Regions from separate parts of the Homo sapiens genome. Here region 2 is linked to region 1. The links are contacts of gene promoters, found by promoter capture Hi-C in human tissues and cell types (Jung and others, 2019). All regions are on one chromosome and are shown on one strand. The core of a region is centred on a gene start or on the middle of the fragment in contact, and the rest is flanking DNA. Distances in the headings are between cores, read along the strand shown.

Region 1 (2,713 bases), core at 86-2,585:
AGCCAGCAGAGGTGGGAGCTAGGTAGTTGGTCAGCAGACCTGGCTGATTGGTCCAAGAAAAAATAAACCAACCCTTGGCTTGATCAAAGCTGAGAGGCTGGCAGGGCACAGTGGCTTACGCCTATAATCCTAGCACTTTGGGAGGCTAAGGTGGGAGGATCACGAGGTCAGGAGATCGAGACCATCCTGGCTAACATGGTGAAACACCATCTCTACTAAAAATACAAAAAATTAGCGGGCATGGTGGCATGCTCCTGTAGTCCCAGGTACTCAGGAGGCTGAGGCAGGAGAATCACTTGAACCCGGGAGGCAGAGGTTGCAGTGAGCTGAGATTGGCCACTGCACTCCAGGCTGGGCGACAGAGAGAGACTCTGTCTCAAAAAAAAAAAAAAAAAAAAAAAATGCTGAGAGGCTGGGGGCCCTGCTGAGTGGGAGGCTCATCAGCAACCCTGAAATGTCATTGTAGAAAACTGCCCCTGTGAGCCTGAGTAGCTGGAAATAGCACCAGGAAAGCAGCAATCCCAGCCTGCAATAGCTAGGCTAATTCTCCCCAGCAGCTTTCATGGAGGACAGTAGTCACTGCCCCCATTTTCCATGAAAAGTAACATGAATCCTGGCTGTATAAGGGGCACTTACTGTGCTGGGTGCTAGGCTAAGTGCTGTACATGCACCTTCTCAGTCCATTAGAGAAGTCTAGGCTCAGAGAGAGGAGTGGAGTGAGGATTCCTTGACCCCTCAGACCACTGTGGTCCTCCCATCCCACCTCCTGGGCAGCCTGGTAGAGGAGACATTCCTTTAATTCTTCCTGCCTAATTTAGAGGCTGGGTGGGGGTCTGAAGGTTCACTCCCTTCACATCATCCCACTAGTCTACTTTGGGAAGAATTACAGGTTGTTGGAGCTGGAAGCCCCATTCTAGGCATGGTCTGAAGACCTGAACAATCCCAGGGGGTGGTGAAGGGGGCAGGGAGGAGATGGGCACCACTTACCATTTGAGGCCGCCCAGAGAAGTCCTTGCCCTTCTTAATAAGCACCTCCTTGGCCAGCTGGTGGTGGCCGACAATCACTGTAGTCTTGGTGCCCATACGAACCGAATAGATGGGGCCATATTTTTTCTGCAGCTTGAAGAAGTTGTTATGCATATGGCCGTGTCTGGGGAGGAATGGCAGGCTGCCCACCAGGGGCAGGGACAGGAGGCTCTTGGGGTACTTGGCACCAGGGCACCTTCTCTTGGGCCAAAACAAATAAGCTAGGGTAAGCAGCAAGAGAGCCACGAGCTCCCACATGGTGGCTGGGTGCCGGCAGGCAAGATAGACAGCAGTGGAGTAGAAGAGCTGTGGCAACTCTAGGGCACAAGGAGGCCTTTTAAAGGGCTACCCTGATCTTCACCTTGACTTTGTGTTATCTCTTGCCTTGTGGAAAGATTCTCCTGGAGCCCAGCCAGGCCTGAGCTCATATCCAGAAGGGAGAGAGGCGGTGGGAGTGAAGGCCTCCTCAAGGGCTGGCTCAACTCCAGGGCAAACCTCCGGAGGAGGAGCTAGGTAAGGGAGGTCAGTTGATCACCCTCTGAGGAGCTCCCCATGCTTGAATGACTCCAGAGTGCGAATGGTATCTGGGCTCAGGAGTCAAGGCTTGGAACTTTCCATGTTGCAAAATCAAAATCACTGGACAGATGACAGATTCAGGAGGGTCACAAGTAGCAGGGACTGTTAAAGGTCTTTTATGCTTCTTTTTTTTTTTTTCAGAGTCTTGCTCCATCACCAGGCTGGTGTGCAGTGGTGTGACTGTCCATGCAGCCCTGGCCCTCCAGCCCATGTGGTTTTGGCAGCGATAAGGGCTGTGGGTTAATGGTCCCCAAAATAAAAATGTACATGTGTATGGGAACGAAAGGGGTGCTAAGCTGTGGGGAGCGGTGGAAGGGAAGGGAGAGATAGGTCAGTACTAGGAATGCCAGAGGTGGGAGGCCGTTTCATAACATTTCTTGTTGATCAAAATGCCATCAACACCTTCTTTGCTCATCAGCAGGACTAGCGTACTGGGGGAACCCACCCCCAATATTTCAACGTAGGTTCTTTCTATAAGTGTCAGCCGGCTGAGAAATAAAGAGAGACAGTATAAAGAGAGGAATTTTACAGCTGGGCCGCCGGGGGTGGCATCACATATCGGTAGGACTGTGATACCCACCTGAGCCTCAAACCAGCAAGTTTTTATTAAGGGTTTCAAAAAGGGGAGGGGGTGTAAGAACAGGGAGTAGGTACAAAGATCACATGCTTCAAAGGGCGAAAAGCAGAACTACTAATAAGTGTCTAACAAAGATCACATGCTTCTGAGGGAAAGGACAAAGGGCAAAAGCAGAACTACCGATAAGGGTCCAACAAAGATCACAAGGCAAAGGGCAAAAGCAGAACCACTGATAAGGGTCCAACAAAGATCACAAGGCAAAGGGCAAAAGCAGAACTACAGATGAGGGTCTATGTTCAGCGGTGCACATACTGTCTTGATAAACACCTTAAACAACAGCAAACAGGGTTCGACAGCAGAGAACCGGTCTGACCACAAATTTACCAGGGCGGAGTTTTTCCCCACCCTAGTAAGCCTGAGGGTACTGCAGGAGACCAGGGCGTATCTCAGTCCTTATCTCAACTGCACAAGATAGACATTCCCAGAGCGGCTGTTTATAGACCTCCCCCCAGGAATGCATTCCTTTCCCAGGGT
Region 2 (2,713 bases), core at 63-2,562, 43 kb before region 1:
TACCAAAAAAGTAAAAATAAAAAAGCCAGATATGGTGGCACATGCCTGTAGTCCTAGCTACTCGGGAGGCTGAGGCAGAAGGATCACGTGAGCCCAGGAGTTTGAGGCTGTAGTGAGCTACAGTCGTGCCACTGTACTCCAGCCTGGACAACAGAGCAAGACCTTGTCTCCAATAAATACGTAAATAGTAAAAGCATAGGATAATCATAAAGGGTGCTGATAATTTTTCATATTTGACCTTTCCATTGCATTCTTTCCAGTTCCTTTTTCTTTTCTTCTTCATGTGTCTGGAGCAGCCCACATTGCCACAGAGAACTTGGCTGTTCTGAAACAATTCTGAGTGAAGGCAAAGTGCTTTTTGGATGGTCTTTCATGCTCAGCAATAGTGGCTCACAGAATAATGTTGATAGTAGGAGCCCAGAGAATTTAATTAGCCCAAGGTCACACAGTTAATAGCCCTACTGTAAAAGCTGGGCTTTGAACCCAGATCCAGCTCACTCTTTTTTTTTTTTGAGACAGGGTCTGGCTCTGTCACCCAGGCTAGCGTGCAGTGGTGCAATCATGGCTTGCTGCAGCCTCAACCTTCTGGGCTCAAGCAGTCCTCCCACCTCAGCCTCCCAAGTAGCTGGGACTACAGGTGTGCAACATCACACCCAGCTAATTGTATTATTATTTTTTTGGTTGAGATGGGGTTTTGCCATGTCCAGGCTGGTCTCAAACTCCTGGGCTCCAGTAATCTGCCCACCTTGGCCTCCCAAAGTGCTGAAATTATAGGCGTGACCCACCACACCTGGCCCCAGCGAACTCTTAACTACTTAGGCTTTGTGTAGATCTTAAGCCACCGGGAGGTGTTTGAGTCCTAGGTGTGCAACAATTAGGCTCCTCATATAAGGAGGGGTGGAAGATCACCAGGCAGCATTTCCACACCACTGTTCTTTGCTGTGGATTTGCATGAGAGGAGACATAGATTTCATGATATCTTGCATTGGCTTGAGGCTGCTATGTCAGGGTGGAAAGGGGATGGGGAGGATAATAAAACCTTAAAGTTGAAGGAGACGGCTGGGCGTGGTGGCTCACGCCTGTAATCCCAGCTACTCGGGAGGCTGAGGCAGGAGAATCATTTGAACCCGGGAGGTGGAGGTTGCAGTGAGTCAAAATCACGCCACTGCATACCAGCTTGGGCAACAGAGTGAGACTCCATCCTCCCCACCCCCACAAAAGAAAATTTAAGGAGACATTACAGGTGATCTTAACCAGACCTAGGGCCATTGAGTAACTTGCCTAAAGTTCATTTCTGTGTAGTGATAGAGCTGGGATCTACAAAAATTAGCCGGGTGTGGTGGCGTGCACCTGTAGTCCCAGCTACTCAGGAGGCTGAGGCAGGAGGATCAGTTGAGCCTGGAGGTCGAGGCTGCAGTTAGCTGTGATCAGGCCACTCTACTCCAGCCTGGGCAACAGTTAGACTCTGAGTGAAAAAGAAAAAAGTAGGGGGGTGCGAGGAGAGCTGGGGCCAAACCCAAGGCTCCTGGGTTTTCCATACCACTATTGACTGACACCAGCATGTCTCTCTGAAGGAACTCACTTTGGCACTCATATCTCACTATCTCCTGAATCCTCCTTCACCTCTTCCTTGCTAGAGGTACACCTTCTTTCGTACCGCTGCAGCAGAAAATGACAGTTCCCATAACCAAGACTATCCCAGGCAGCTCAGGGACTCTGTATTTAGAGGAGGGAGAAGGACCACAGGGGACTAGATATATAGATGGCCACAACTTGTGATGGTTCAACTTAGTGATTTTTCAACTTTATGGTGGTGCAATTGATACATGCAGCCAGTAGAAATCATTTGTTTTTCATTTTTAATACAGTATTAAGTAGATGACATGAGATATTCAATACTTTATTGTAAAATAATTTGTGTTAGAGGATTTTACCAAACCATAGGCTGATGTAAGTTCCGAGCAGTTTAAGGTAAGCTAGGCTAAGCTATGCTGTTCAGTAGATTAACTGTGTTAAATGCATTTTTGACTGACGATATTTTCAATTTATGATGGGTTTACCAGAACATGACCCCATCGTAAGCCGAGAAACTTCCGTACTGTGTTAAAAACTGTTTGAGGAACACTGGATTAAATGATGCTTCCACTGTTCTGCTCTCCCTGGGAAAGCGGAGGCAGAACGGTGAAGCAGAGTGAGGTCTTGTTTATTCCAGGCCCCCTGCCTCGGTGCACAGAAGATCCGAGAGAAAAGCTGACTGACAGCAGTAGGTCATGAGGATGCCACTTGTTTAGATTTCAAATGCATTCCACTCTATGTCTCACTTAAGACCAGTTGACAGCCATGTGTTCCGAGCCTGGGCTGCCTCTGGTGAATTTTCCTGAGACAGAAGTGTCATTGGATTCTTTCTTGTGCCAAGTGTAGGCACCACTGCCTCTTTTAGAAACTATGTGGACACTTTGAACTGTGCTCTTTTAAGCCAGTGCCGGAAGAATGGCATTCGCAGGGCCTGGTAAACTGGGGAGAAACTTTCTGATGTTTTTATGAAAGGCATGTTTTGCTCTGAAGTCAAAGAGTGTGTGTTCTGGCCAAAGTAGCAAGCATAGATCTGCTTTTTCCACACGCACCAGGCTTCAGAGGAGAAGTTGACTAGATAGCCAGTGTCTCATTTTGTTTGTGGTGGGCATGGGATGGTGAAAACGGAAGGAGGAAGAAG

Evidence for each region. Contacts are between HindIII fragments. The study calls those that stand out against the background at their distance.
Region 2: a contact is called between a fragment that was not itself captured here and the fragment with the promoter of CYP17A1 in region 1, in 1 of the 25 tissues and cell types used here (bladder).

What each region holds. Positions count from the first base shown.
Region 1 is chr10:102,836,078-102,838,790 of GRCh38, forward strand. It overlaps CYP17A1 (cytochrome P450 family 17 subfamily A member 1), which reads right to left and starts at 1,336. Exons shown (of 8, transcript NM_000102.4): 1 at 988-1,336. The coding sequence starts at 1,284. RefSeq lists a promoter at 1,296-1,575. The HindIII fragment of the contact is 7,169 bases long and covers 1-2,713 here.
Region 2 is chr10:102,793,275-102,795,987 of GRCh38, forward strand. The region is part of intron 1 of WBP1L (WW domain binding protein 1 like); the gene reads left to right. Among named protein-coding and RNA genes, the nearest start is that of CYP17A1-AS1, 38 kb to the right of the region's middle. The HindIII fragment of the contact is 6,115 bases long and covers 1-2,713 here.